Linked DNA regions of Homo sapiens: regions 1 and 2 are each linked to region 3. Evidence: promoter capture Hi-C in human tissues and cell types (Jung and others, 2019). All regions are on one chromosome and are shown on one strand. The core of a region is centred on a gene start or on the middle of the fragment in contact, and the rest is flanking DNA. Distances in the headings are between cores, read along the strand shown.

Region 1 (5,018 bases), core at 1,284-3,783, 440 kb before region 3:
AATTGATTTGAAAACTAAAAACAGGGCACAGTCCAATAATTAGAATTGCACACTGTTACTATATAGAAACCAGGTGCATGGTACAGTGCAGCTGCAAAAATGGAAGCCAAATCATGTTTTTAGACAATTTTAGGAACCTGGCAATACTGTTGAAGCAAAATACTCAACACAGCAGGAAATGGACCCAAAAAAAAAAAAAGCATTCTATAACCAAATAAACATCTGATATTTCCTTTCCCTTTGAGAATAAATACAGTTAAGGTCACTTTTAGCCTTGGAACGGATATATGTTTGCCTATGATGATCTTGCTAACGACTACACAATATCTGATGTCCTCTGCTAGGATTATAGTTTTAAGAAAGCCATAATTACAAGAGGCATCTACTATAAATACCTAGAACTTCCTTTTATGGCAACCACTATAGAATTCACTTGTCTTAAACAGTGAACAAGGGAAGATGGCCTCATGTTTCCTTTGCAATTATAGTATATGTTGAGGATCAAGTGGCTTTCAAGCAGCATGGTGGGTGTGAAAATGTTTGCAGTTTAGATCATTCTGTTGCGTTTATGGGTTGGTGAGTCTGTAATGACATCGCCACACTGGGCTGAGGTACGCTTTCTAGTTCCACCATTGTCCAAGTGGAGTGCCATTTCTTCTGATATGAAAGTGTTCAAATCGACATCATGGAGTCCATTTCTCCTTCGACTAGCATTCGATCCACTGCTTACATGTGTAGGAGAGCCTGGGGTACTCGAACGCACGCTTATACTAGCCATTGCACCACTAAGACCTAGGAAGAAGAAAAAAGGTTTTAGAGTTGCTCAATTATGTAACCCTTTTGAAAGCAACCCACTTACTTTCCATGTTGTCACAATGTCAAAGCATGTCTGCCTATTTCCTTTATAAGGGATTACTAGTAAGCAATTAAGTTTTATTCTGGATAAACATATCATCTGGCCTTGACATATATTTTATTGGTAATACTACCAATATCTACAATATTGGTAACTACCAATTACTAAAAGTTACTACGTGTCAACCACCGTGCTAGGTGTACAAATATCTCATTAAATTCTCCCATCTATGAGGTAGGTACTGCACAAAATTTACAGATAAGGACAGGAGACATTTGCTTTAAAGACAAGACATTTTTGGTTACCCAAAGTTACCATTCCAACAGACCCCTCTGATGAGTGTGTATGTGTGTGATGTATTCAGGAGAGCCAGAAATCACTTCCAGGCCTAGGTGGGCTTGTTCCAACATCCCCTCTAGATAAGGTGATCACATAACTTGCCATCCAAAACAGATTACTGTTGAGCCCGAAAAGAGTCACTGTTAAAATTTCTACTGGGACATGAGGTACAAAGTCAGTCTACCCTGGACAAATCAGGCTATGTGATCACCTAAGGTCTGGAATGTATTTGGTAGATATCCTTCAGGACAGCCTCAATCATGAGCCTCTCTAATCCTTCATGGAAGTGGGGAGGGGAGAGGGTTGTGAAGAATCCTGCTGCTTTGTTTTCAACATTAAGAGTTACTGAATCCAAGGCCAGGCGCAGTGGCTCACACCTGTAATCCCAGCACTTTGGGAGGCCGGGCAGATCTCTTCAGGTCAGGAGTTCATGACCAGCCTGGCCAACATGGTGAAAACTCGTCTCTACTAAAAAATACAAAAATTAGCCCGGCGTGGTGGCAGGCGCCTGTAATCCCAGCTACTCGGGAGGCTAAGGAGGAGAATCGCTTGAACCCGGGAGGCGGTGGTTGCAAAGAACCGAGACTGCACTCCATCCTGGGTGACAAGAGCGAAACTCCGTCTCAAAAACAAAAGAGTTACTTTACTGAATCCAGAATATACCCAGCACTCATGGATACTTATTCCTTTCCTTAAACTCTTACACAGTTAAAGAGCCAAACTTACATTCCACTCCTAAACATTCAGGATAAACCTGTGAAAGGTATGAGTCAGGCCAGGAAACACCAAACACAGTGTTGCATTTTTAAAAACCTACCGTCACTGGCAGTGATCTTCTGCCTTAGGAATTTCCCCTTCCACTATTCTCTCCTCACCTAGGGATCTGTTATTGCTTGACTATCAATTAATTTTCAAAGAATAGGACTTATAAGATTTTCAAGTAAGCTTAGAGGTTTCATTTGACAGGGGCCCATTCTTTCTAATCATGAACTCCCTAAAAATGTAGTTTAAATTTGAATTTTAAGTTGAAAAGTCTCTGCCTCCTATCACAAATCTATTACATTCCCCTTGGCGTTCCCCTCCATCAAATATTCTCTGAAATGTTCTCAAATCCATGGCCTCCACTATCATCGCACATGCTGACAATGTCCTGAGGGCCACACCTCCCTTCTGAGGTGCTCAACTCCGCACTCTAGGTGCCCCCATTCCTTTCTGCACTGATCCAACCAATCCCCCTGGCTGCTCTCCCTGCAGAAGACACATCCTCCCCTCCTGCTGGTGGTCAGAGGAAATCAAACTGTCCCTCTTCAGCCTCTCAACCTTTCCAAGGCTAGCACCTATTAAAAAATAGAAGCATTAACATGAGAATACTTCCTGTGTCAGGTACTATGTCAATTACTTCCTATGACACCTATAATATCTCCATTCTGCAGGTGAAAACCCAAGTTTAAAAGTTAATTCATCCAAGGTCAACAGGTAGTAAACAAGAGCTGGCACTCCCACCCAAGTGTAATCTATATTCCTATTCAGTTATTCTGATCCTCTTCCAAGCCTAGAGTATTTTAGCAAAAAGGTGGCTTCAGGTTGGTCCTAGGGCCAGCCTGCCTCTTAGGCCTCATCTCTTTGAACAGTTTCTCTCTCTTCCCTTCCTGCTCTCTTCACTTCACCCTTAGACCGTATCCCGACTACCAACATCATGCAATTTGCAGCTCTCTGAAATAGTGAGGCCTGCAACTATCTGTCTCTTCCAACATTTGCAAATGTCTGTCTCTCCCAACATTCACTCCCTGAGTGAGCCCACCTGTTCCCCAGCACCTCCCTTATGAGGCTCCTTCCCTGGTTCTCCTACCTCTCCATTTTAGTTTCCTGCTGGCTCCTCTTTCCCCCTCCTTGAAATTGAAACTCTCCGCTCACTCCTCAGTCGCCTTGGTGGGGTTCCCTTCTGCCCCTGAAAGGCTGGTGTCACCCTGGGTGATATCCTCAACCCCTACCTTACCCACACACGTTTCCCAAAACTAGACTAATGAGCTCAACGGCCCTCCCAGATTTCTAACTGCCTACTGGACATCTCAAACTCAACACCATCAAAAAGGAACTTCACTTCCTCTTCCCCAACCGGCACAAGCTTACTTTTAAAAAACAAAATAAACCAAAAAAAAATCTTGAGCTATCTTTCTACAGCATGGTACAATCAACCGTCTCTTCCTATAGAAAATATCTTTTCATCTCCATCTAATGACCTAAGCACAGTGCCTGGCACTTACGAATTCTGAAAAAGAATAATACTTCAAAGTCCTACCCCCTCATGTTGAAATCCACTGAAATCAAAGGTTCAACTGTTGATGTTTATTCACCTCTCCAACACCAGAAAATAAACCCAGGTGTTCTCTTCACTTAAATCATTGCCATCAAGTTTAAAACTCAATTATCCCCATTGTTGGCTTTTTTTTAAAGTTCTACCGCAAGACTAAACTTGAGGGGAGAGATGTGCCTTCTTTCATCCTAGTGTCTCAGCCTGTAACATATTACAAGGTGCCCATGTTCTTCAAAGATAACCTTTCGTACTTGTTTCATAATCCAAAAGGTAATTATTATGGCAAAATATGGGCACGTTCAGCAATAAACTGGGCTACTTCAATAATTAAAATCAAGATCCCCTTTATCATTTCAAATTATAAAAAGAATTCAACAAACCCCACCCTAATGCCCTTGTTAACATAGGAGTCTCATGGCAGCACGTTTAATACCTAACAACAAATATGGAAGGCTCAAAACACTGTATCAGAAGTGGACTAGGGATTTCAAGCAAATGTTCCTTATTGTTTCAGCTGCCATTCTCCATGAAAAAGAAGATGTGTTAAACATCAATTTGGTCAATCTGAAAATTCTAACAGCTTCTGGGAAATCATCTTTTTCTACTGGGTGTATGACCTGGGTGTTTATCTTGATAACTTTAATGTGCAATATGATCTATGACTGACTCTCATAGCAGTGAAAATATTTTCAAAGTCTGCCTACCTAATCTTCCCCAAAAAGACTTTTCACAAGGGTCAAAAATAATTAAGATTAACAACCAAAAAATGTGCATTTTGACAGCCCAAATTTTATTTTACAAACCAATGACAGCTACTAGAAGATGCTTTAGGAAACCTTAGCTAAGCCACATAAACAATCAGACCTATACAAGTACAGAAAAATCTAAACATGCTTCAGAACTAAAAAAAAAACAAAAAAAAACAAAAAAAACAAAAAAAAAAAACCAAGTTGTACGTCCTGAGGGCATACAACTTAATTTCTACAAAAACATACTTTTTCAAAAGGGCTATGAGAGTATCAATTGACAAAAGCAGAACAAGTAGCATGATTAGACAGAGAAGTCTTAATTGCTTAACACAAGATAAACTCAGCAGTTTTAAAGTGTCTGTATCCATTTTAAATGATTAGTCCAGGGGTAGAAAAGATGAGGATGGTTTCATCATACTTTGAAAAGGAAACTCCCACTGGAGCTAAAACAAACTTACAGTCCAGGTTATAAGAATCCAAGTTACATAGTAAATTATTAACTATTATTTTCATACCAAGTTCATGCTTAGGCAATAAGAAAATCCTGTTTGCAGCATTAATTACATGTAATTCAGTTTCCAGGCACATAGTTAGAGGTCACACACAGGCAGAGAAAGAACAAATGCCAGCCCAGTCATCTCACTGCCTCAGTCCAGCAGCCAGTGGCCCAGGACTTCATCTACACTGTCTATCTGCTTCCCAGCCACTTAAGCCCCACGAGGGAAGGCAAGGCAGCTAGCCCTGGAGGTGAGAAGACACC
Region 2 (5,059 bases), core at 2,545-5,044, 270 kb before region 3:
AGAAGGCGACACAGCTGAGTGTGAAAAGAGGTGGTGAGGCCAGGCATAGTGGCTCACACCTGTAATCCCAGCATTTCGGGAGGCCAAGGCGACAGATTACGAGGTCAGGGGTTCAAGACCAGCCTGACCAACATGGTGAAACCCCGTCTCTACTAAAAATACAAAAAATAGCCTGGCATGGTGACACGCGACTGTAATCCCAGCTACTTGGGAGGCCGAGGCAGGAGAATCGCTTGAACCCAGGAAGCGGAGGTTGCAGTGAGCCGAGATTGCGCCAGTGCACTCTAGCCTGGGCGACAACAAGAATGAGACTCCGTCTTAAAAAAAAAAAAGCGAGTGTGGTCACAGGCGGGAGGGGTGGAATAGCAGGATGAGTTTGGGAACTGCCAGACTCTGTGACTAGAGGTTTAGGGTCTGTGGTTTGCAGAATGATGCTCCCATCCCCGGAAAGGTGTCCATGTCCTAATCGCTGAAACCTGCAAATGTTACGTTACATGGCAAAGGGATTTTGCAGACCTTATTGAATTCAGGATCCCTAGTGAGGAGGTGGGCCTGCATGCCCCAGGTGGGCCTAGTGTACTCACAGTCATCAGTGCCAGAGTGAGGGGACCTGAGAAGACAGGTGCAAGGGGGAGCCCAGGAATGGGGTGGCTCTAGGACCCGGAAGCGGCAGGGAAACATTTCCCCCTAGAACCTCCAGAAGGAATGTGGCCCTGCTGGCACCTTGGTTTTAGCCCGGTGAGACCCATTTCAGACTTCTGACCTTCAGAGCTGTGAAAGAACAAGGTGTGTCAACTTACCTGGGTCACCCAGAGCAAGTGGCAGAGCTGGGATTGGAACACATGTGGTCCGGCTTCACCATAGCCAGTAAGTGCTATTGGTCATAAAGTAGTGGTTACTGAATTTTAATTAATATTTTTTTGGAGACAGGCTCTCCCTCGTGCCCAGGCTGGAATTCAGTGGCGCAATCACCGTTAACTATAGCCTCAAACTCCTGGGGCTCAGGAGTCCTCCCACCTCAGCCTCCCTAGTGACTGGGACTACAGGCACACCACACCTGGCCATTTTTTTTCTTTTTTGTATAGACGGGGGGGTCTACTTTTTTATTTAAACACCCTCCTGCTTTCATCCATTTTCCTACCTCACCACCCAAAAGTCGTGAACTGCAGTTGGGCTTCCCAGTCTGAACGTTGTGGTGTGGTTCCCCACATGCTTTGAATATAGAAAGTAGCCCACTGCCTGAATAGTCCAGGGCCACTGATACACTGCAGGTGGCATTTGGTGGCATAAAAAGAGATGAAGCAAAATAACGCACGTTGGTAGATTGCTTCCTTTGTGAATCAGGTGTTCAGTAACAAGTTTTAATGAGATCCTGAGCTGAATGAATCATTCCTAAAGCAAACCATGCTGGGCTGTATGTATCTGAGTGTATGGAGAGATTTAAATGTGAAAAGGCCTGAGTCTTGTCTGCGAGGGCTCAGGGTGCAGGTGCACAGCGTCTCAGCATACCCAGGTCTCTAGATGTACAGAGTTAGATATTACAGCATTTTAGACCTAAGTATAGCCTCATGCGCTCAGGTCCTCAGTCATCCTCATGCCCACAAGCCCTCTGCATTTACAGATGAGCAAATAGGATATCCAGGGGCTCTCTCCAAGCCTGCAGAGCTCATCACATGAATCCGGCTGGCTCAGGGCGAGGTGGGTGAGCCCCCTGCTCCCCGGGCTGTGTTCTCTGTGGAGCCTTGGCCAGTTGGGGTGGTGTCCTTCCTGTTGCCTAAATCACCTAGTTTCTTTAAGATGACAGCTTTCACAAGGTGGAAGGAAAACTGGGTCAGGGCTACCAGAGGCTCAGGATTCCTTATCTGAGCAGAGGTTGAAGGAAATTAGGTGACTTAAGAGGCCAGATTTTAAAGATTAAATATATATATGATGTACATCTTCATAGGCAACTTTGGAAACAATATTTAGTTTGTAAAGTGACTGTAGCAGTCAAACAGTGGCAAGCCTACAGTTTTAAATACAGAAATCCTTACTTGGTTTGACTTTAAGCCTTGCCTGTTAAGTCACTGATCGAAGAAAGTAGAAATAAACATGGCTTTTTTATCTTAGTTTTCTGCGTGTCGCTGCTGCTCACACAATGCACAAGAGCTGTGAATTCTTGGGACGTTGCATCAGATCAGTTTTTTCAGTCTGTGCACAGATCTTAGCTTGAATGGTTACTTAACTGGTCACCAATTGTACATGAGGTTCTCTTGGGAAAAATAAGACAGGAGGCCCAAGTTCTGGCCCCATTGAACTTGGTCAGGAGTGACTGTGTGCGCAGAAACAAGTGACAAATAGTGCCCGCTCAGATCACTGTCGTGCGCTGGTCAGTGCCTGGGGAAGACATGCATGTAAGCCAGGTGACCCTTGGGTCCCTCGCCAGTGGGATGTGGCCCTGCGGGTGACTGGTTGAGCTTCAGGATGCAGGGCAGCCAGGCACATACAGCTTCTGAATCTTGGACAATTAGCAGTGCCATGTTCGTGGCAGACAGGGCTGGGTTGGTAACTGAGACTGTTGTCTCTGTCAGCGCCCAGTCCTGTGGGAAATGTGCTGCTGAAAGCTCTGTCCCAGCCCAAGTGATCAAAGTCTTCAGTGTTCTCAAGTTGGGGTTAATTGCCTTGGGGTAAGGGGTCTGGAGAGGAAGAATTAGCACCACACATCTGCATTTACTCTTAATGATCAGTATTTCCTTTGGAAATCAGAAGCTGTTATTTAAAATGTAATTCTTTTTTGATGAAATTAAAGGGCTTTTATTTTTCTTAAAATACTGTTTTAATCTTGAGTGTTTATCAGAGAGCACTGGGTCCCATCTTTTTTTTTAGAGCAGAAAATGTCTGTTGTGTCTTCTACTCTGCAAGCCTAGATACCAAGGCTCTGAGTGATAACATTATTTCTAGACCTTCGCTGTCCACTGTGGCAGCCACTAGCCACATGTGGTTGATTAAATTAAATACATAAATATTTGGTTTTTTGGTCTCCATGGCCATATTTCATGTGCTCAATAAGTACATGTGGCTATTTAAATAAAATTAAATTGAATAAGATTAATAATACCAATTCCTCTGTCACAACAGCCATGTTTCAAGCGCTCAGTTGCCACATGCAGCTCCTGGCTTCTATGGTTGGTGGGACAGCACTGCTGTTTAGACAGAGCCTGTGAATGGGGGTTTTCCTTTGCTATTCTAGGGGATAGCAACCGTTAGACCTCCTTGACCAGTATGGTTTAGAATATGGAAAGCCAAGCATTTTCATGTAATAACTTCTTAGAAGGAGCTTCCCCAAGCTCAGCTTAGGGCATACTTGCTGGTAATCACTGCTTCAGGCCCTGGGGGCTTGGAGGGGAAGCAGAGATGAAGTGATAAGGTGTCTCTGCGTAAGGAAAGCCAGCATGGGTTCAGATAGGTCATATGAGCAAATAATGAGGGCAGAAGGTGATGAATGCACAGAGGTGAGCAGATAGGGGCCTGGAAATTGAAGAACAAGATTGCACTCTGAGAGAAGGAAGGCATGGTGAAGAGGTGGTGTTGTGGTGGGCCTTAAAGTAGGCTTAGGACTTGAGCTCGGGGATTTGGAGGTAAGGATGGCAGCGGCAAGGCTTCTGGGTGGATGAAAATAGAAGCACAGGCTGTCCTGGGTATGTCCATTGTATTGGAATTGCCATGTTGTGTTGTGTTACTTTGCTTTTCTTCTCCACTAGACTTTGAGGTTGTAAAGTTCAGGGACTGTGCCCCAGGCATTTTCAATGCCTCGAACAGTAGTTTTTCCCTACATAGTACCCAACAATCAATTGCATTGCATTTTTATGTCTCAGTTTCAATCCCAGTGGAACGTGCCACGATGTTAAATGCCAGTTAACCTTAATTTTACCTGGTTTGGTAACAGTTGTAAAGGATTAGATTTGCATCTGTGCTTTTTGATAAAATTCGGTAACAATCATGATTTTTAAAATAACTTCATTGAGAGATAATTCACATACCACAATTCACCCATTTAAAGTGGGTTCAGTGGTTTTTAGTATTCACAATTGTGTGACTATCAGCATTCAATTCGAGCACATTTTCATCACCACAAAAGGAAATCCTGTACCCATTAGCAGTCACCACTAATCTATGGATTTGCCTATTCTAGACATTTCATAGACTGTGTAAGCTTTTTTTTTTCCCCTTTGGGAGACAAGATCTTGTCACCCAGGCTGGAGTGCCGTGGTTTGATCATAGCTCATTGCAGCCTTAAGCTCCTGGGCCAAAGCCATCCTCTCCCATCAGCCTCCCGAGTAGCTGGAACTGCAGGCACACGCCACCACGCCTGGCTAAGTTTTGTATTTTTTTTCTAGAGACGGGGTTTCGCTGTGTTTTCCATGCTTGTTTTTGGCTGCTTTTATCGTTGTGTTGTCCATGCTTGTTTTTGGCTGCTTTTACTTAGCTTAATATCCTCAAGGTTCATCCACATCGTAGCCAGTAGTCGTTCCCTTTTCTCGCAGAATAATATTCCATCGTGTGGAACTTCACCATGATTTAGCAAAGAGATGTGCAGGTTCTTAGGATTGTGTCATCTGTAATAGGCTTTAGTCAGTATTTTTAAAGGGATTTGAACTTTTTTTGCAGTTAGGAATATGCTTCACTTACTAAGTTGAGTTAACTGGGGGCCAGGTGTGGCAGCTGATACCTGTAATCCCAGCACTTTGGGAGGCCGAGGCCGGTGGATAGCTTGAGCCCAGGGGTTTGAGATCAGCCTGGGCAACATGGTGAAAACTCGTCTCTACAAAAAAATGCCAAAAATTAGTCAGCCATGATGGCGTGTGCTTGTAGTTCCAGCTACTCTGGAGGCTGAGGTGGGAGGATTGCTTGAGCCCAGGAAGTTGAGGCTGCAGTGAGCTGAGATGGTGCCACTCATTCTCCAGCCTGGGCTGGTGGGAGGGAGGAATCAAGGTCAGTTGAGGGTTCCATCAGGGGAGCGGAACTGTGGGAAAGGGATGCAGGGATTTATTAGTGGGATTTTACAGGCCACAGTGGTGGG
Region 3 (4,777 bases), core at 940-3,439:
GCAGGGGCTAAGAGGGAGGGGACCTTGGAGGGAAGGAATATGACATCCTCAGGACCTGTCCAAAGTTCTTGGAGCAAACCCAGCTATGCAAGTGAGGTTCCTGCAGTAGCCTCCACTCCAGCATCTCATTCTCATTAGCTGCAACTGATCTTATTAGCTATCCTGGGTCAGTTTGGATTTTGGCAAGCCTAGATTTGGCAATGGCCTCAACACAAAGATCGCACGGGGTAAGCAGGGATGCGCTGACACCCAGGAATGGATTCCACGAGGCAGCCTGCTGGGGGATGGCATTGAGTTCCAGCTCTGCCCCTTCCTGGCTTCATGACCTTTGCAGAGCCTTGGCGCTTCCTCTGACAAGTGGGGACTTGGGACCCAGCAGTCCCCAAGTCCCCATTGTAAATGTGAGGACTGGGGCTTGTGTCAGGGATCCTAGCACCTTAAGGGTCCTGGAGGGGTTGGGGCCAGCTGTCTCCCACAGGCTGGGTGACCTTGAGCAAGTCTCTTCCCCTTTTGTGCCTCTGTGTGTTTAACTGTCAAATGAAGGGGCCACGTCTTTAATGCAGAAGCCCTTTTAGGTCTTAGGACTCCAGACTGGACCATTTACCTCTCCCCGTGGCTAACCTCTTTGGGCCTCGAGAAAACACATTTCTCTATGACTCCACGCCGCAACACAGGCTCCAAAGAGCAAGACACAACTCACTGCCTCCCTCTCTCCTGCCTCCCAACCTGACCCACCAGAGAAGAGCTCTTCCCACCCCCTCCCCACCCCCAGGTCACCAACATCCTGTCCCTTAGTCTAGCTTCATCAAAGCAGCAAAGCCAACACTGTCTCCTCCCCAGTGGATGGGCCCAGCAGCACCCATTTCTCTTGGCTGAGTGCCCAGGGAATTCCACCAGGCAATGTCCACAGGCGCTTGCGGGGGTGCACACTTTAGGGGGGAAATGCGGGCCCTCTTGGAAGAGGGCCAGCTGTCCTCCCAGACTGCAAGAGAGAATGCATTGAACACAGCCTTTGTGCGTGTGTTGGGGCAGGGAGCGGGGGAGAGGTGGCGGGTGGTCTCTGCTGGTCCTGCTGCCTCAGAGGCCATCTCTGTTGTCAGAGTTTGAAGACTCCTGGAAGGGCCTCTAGGCCCCAGATCCCAGTTTTAAGAGCTCCAGTCTTACTAAATCTCGCTGAACCCCCTCTAGTCTTACCTTGGCCAGGGTGGGTGAGGAAAGGTGAGAGGATGTGAAATAGGTGGGGCAGCCAGGTGTGGGAGTGGAGTTGGGGTGAGGTGGAGAAGGATGGGATTGGGAGCGGTGGGAGGATGGTGCAGGGGGTTACTAGGATGGGGTTTGTGTGAAAGGGCTTGGGTGGAGTGGAGGGAGGTGGATGACTTGGAGGGGTGGCCAGACCTTTGCCCTGCTCCTGAGTATGAAGGTCCCTCATTTTACATCTTTACTGGGGAGGAGAGGGGAAATCCCCAAAAGCCTTTAATGTGGTGGTGTCAGAGGCCACCCTGCCTCTCTGACGGGTAGGGAGGGGTCTCCGGCAGGGCTAAGGGTGAATCATCTATCTCTCCAGAGCCCAGTATCTGGGGTGGGAGGGTGACTTGCAGAGTCTCTGCTCCGGGATTTCCTTGTCTTATGATGGGGGGAGAGCTTCCATTTGTCATGGAGGGGGAGGTCACTGTAATTTATAAGCTGAGAAGACCCCCATTATTCCGAAAGAGAGGGGAGAAGGAAGACACCCAAACTTAGTTTTCTAAGGATGGGGAAGGGGCATCAGTCTCCCAAGAGGTGAGGGGGCTCTAGAGACCTGGAGACCACTTTTTGGGGCCGCATTCTATTTCAAGCGGTAAAAGGGAGAGGACTTCTGTCTAGAGCTGGAGCCAGGAGGAAGGGCCCATTTCTGAAGGAGAAAGGAAGGTATTTTGCTCTCTGGGGGGTGGGAGCCCCTGTCTTTTCGGGGGAGGGCCCCGCGTCTTGGGAAGATGAGGGCTCCGTTTCCAGGAGAAGATGCCCAGGTTTTGCTCCTGGGGGCAGGGCAGAAGGACCTCCTCTCGGCTCCCCTCGGAAGGGCCCGTCCCAAGCCACCCGGCGCCTCGCGCTCACCTCCAGGCCCCGTCTCCGATCTGCGGGATCCGATCCGCCGGGTTCCGACTTGCGGGATGCGCGCCCCGAGTTCCGGCAGCGCTGGGTGTCTGCTCGACTTCCCCCAGCGACTCGCCGGACTCCCTGGCTCCGCCGAGCGTCCCGGCCAATCAGCGCCGCCAGCCCCGGCCCTCGCTTTCGCCACAGCCAATGGGTGCGCCCGCCACGGGCCACCGCCCCCAGGAGGGAGGTGGCAGGCGGGGCGGGGGCAGAGTCCAGCCTCCGGGGGCGGGGGAGACGGGGGCTGGGGCGGGACCCACCAGAGGGACCGCGAGGGCTGGGAGGGAGTCCTGGGACTGGGGAGGAGACGGCTGAGGACCCCCGTCAAGTTGTGGGGACCCTGACCCTCTGGGGGGCAGCTCCATAGGTTGATTTAACCTGGATCTTAATGGGCCATTTACACCCTCAGGGCTGCAGGCGAGTGTAACTCCACCTCCACCCGCGTCTCGGATCCGGTCTCTGGAGCTCCAGAGTCGGAATCAGAAGGGGTTCCTTTGCGGAGAAGGGAAGGAGCATCCCGCCCTCCCCACCTCACTCCCCATCTCGGCGCTCAGGGCCCTGCCAGCCCTTCTTGCTCCCAGCTACTTTCCTCCGCCTGGCCCCAGCGCTCCGGAAGACAAACAGGGCGCTGGGAGTCAGAGGTGGTTCCTTCTGCATGACCTGGAGCAGGTCACTGCGCCTCCTGATCCTCAATTTCCTGAAATTGGGACAACAGAGATTGTACCTCCTTCGTGGGTATAAACGAGACCCTAGATATGATGAAGGTGCCTTTCTACCGTTGTATAAAATGCTGTGTGGAAGATAATTAATACTCAGGTGTGACGGATGGATAGCCCCCCCACAGCTTTCTAGAGGTATTTGGAAAGAGGATGCAATCTTTCAGTGACAAAATCAAAGACACAAAGAACTGCTCATCAAGACAACAGGCGATCACCAAGTCCTCATAATGAATGAATGGATGGATGGAGAGTACAGACCTTAAAGGCAGAGAAAGAGTTCAGCTTGGTTCTCCCCACTCACCCTGATCACTGATAACTTGGTCTGTGGAGTCTTGTAGAACCCTGAGGTCTCTCCTCCTGCTGTCCAGGAATCCAGGCTGCCCTATCTCTGATTACACAAGCGCTATAGTCCTTGCAATTAAAGAATTAAGATAAAGTAAACACATAGATAAATAGAAAGCTGCCAAACAAATCATTCACCTCCTAGTGTCACCTCTGGGGACCCTCCCCCCCAACACACACACACACACACACACACACACACACACACACACACAGAGCAGTAAATAAGAATAATTGAGGCCTGGCACAGTGGCTTACGCCTGTAATTCCAGCACTTTGGGAGGCCGAGGCAGGCAGATCACTTGATGCCCAGAGCTCGAGACCAGCCTGGCCATCATGGGGAAACCCCCTTTCTATTAAAAATACAAAAATTAGCCTGGCATGGTGGCACCTGCCTGTAATCCCAGCTACCTGGGAGGCTGAGACATGAGAATCGCTTGAATGGAGAGGCAGTGGTTGCACTGAGGTGAGATGGCACCACTGCACTCTAGCCTGGGTGATTGTCACCTTGCTTGAGGAACTTGATGAGGCCTGTGCTGAAAATCTAGCAATTTTTTCTTAAAACCAAAGCCATGAACATAATCCCCTTTACTACCCTTGACCTGCCCAAAGAAATACAACGGCCAATAAACATGGGAGATGACACTTTGAAAAGGAAAGGCAAGTTAAAACCAAAAGAGGGAAAGAGTTTACCTACCAAAATGACCTTGTTTTTATTATTATAATTACTATTCTTTGCAAAGACTTCAAGGAGTTTCATGTATTGATGATGGCAGTAGAAAGATCACAGCCTTTCTGGAGGGAAATTGGGTATTTCTATTTTAAAAATCTTAAAAGTAAGTTGACCCTTTGATCTAGCAATCCAATCCCTATGAACTTATCTGAAAACATTTAAAGGTACAAAGATTTAATGATAAAGTAGCTTACTACCATTTTGTTTATCACAGGGAAAAACTGGGAACAACTTGAATGCACAACAGCAGGGACTCAGAGGGAAATTGTTGCATGAAATTGAACAATAAACATAGGTATGAAATATTGAATGGGGCTGGGTGTGGTGACACGCCTGTAATTCCAGCACTTTGGGAAGCCAAGGCAAGAGGATCGCTTGAGCCAAGGAGTTCAAGACCAGCCTGGGTAACATAGTGAAACCCTGTCTCTACAAAAAATACAAAAATTATCCGGGCGATGTGGCGCATGCATGTAGTCCCAGCTACTCAGGAGACTGAGGCAGCCTTGAGCCTGGGAGGTTGAGGCTGCTGTGGGCCAAGATTACACCACTGTACTCCAGCTGGGTGACAGAGTGAGACCCTGTCTCAAAAACAAAACAAAACAAATCTCAAAATGTTAAGTTATTTGCAAAAACAGTATATTTGGTACTGTCTTACTTTTTGTTAAACATCTTACTTTTTGTTAAATCTACCAGGTAGAGCTAGATCAATGCTGTGTAATATAACTTTCTATGATGCTCTATATCTGTGCCGTCCCGTGTGGTAGCCACTAGCCACATGGAGGTATTGAACACCTGAAATGACTAATTTTGGTATCCAAGATGTTTAAAAAAAAAAAAGAAAGAAAGAAAT

The links. The method cuts DNA at HindIII sites, captures the fragments that hold promoters and counts their contacts. A contact is called where the count stands out against the background at its distance.
Region 1: a fragment that was not itself captured here is called in contact with the fragment with the promoter of ABAT in region 3 in 2 of the 25 tissues and cell types used here (lymphoblastoid cells and spleen).
Region 2: a contact is called between a fragment that was not itself captured here and the fragment with the promoter of ABAT in region 3, in 1 of the 25 tissues and cell types used here (spleen).

The regions. Positions count from the first base shown.
Region 1 is chr16:9,112,442-9,117,459 of GRCh38, reverse strand. HAPSTR1 (HUWE1 associated protein modifying stress responses) reads right to left here. Exons shown (of 4, transcript NM_014117.3): 4 at 1-792. The coding sequence ends at 548. Among named protein-coding and RNA genes, the nearest start is that of HAPSTR1, 23 kb to the right of the region's middle. RefSeq lists a silencer at 1,854-2,148. The HindIII fragment of the contact is 4,154 bases long and covers 457-4,610 here.
Region 2 is chr16:8,948,112-8,953,170 of GRCh38, reverse strand. All of the region lies in intron 1 of USP7 (ubiquitin specific peptidase 7), which reads left to right. Among named protein-coding and RNA genes, the nearest start is that of USP7-AS1, 12 kb to the left of the region's middle. RefSeq lists enhancers at 1-595, 1,269-1,398. The HindIII fragment of the contact is 4,822 bases long and covers 1,384-5,059 here.
Region 3 is chr16:8,672,029-8,676,805 of GRCh38, reverse strand. ABAT (4-aminobutyrate aminotransferase) reads right to left here and starts at 2,189. Exons shown (of 16, transcript NM_020686.6): 1 at 2,095-2,189. RefSeq lists a silencer at 2,137-2,596 and enhancers at 2,191-2,690, 2,691-3,192. The HindIII fragment of the contact is 24,430 bases long and covers 1-4,777 here.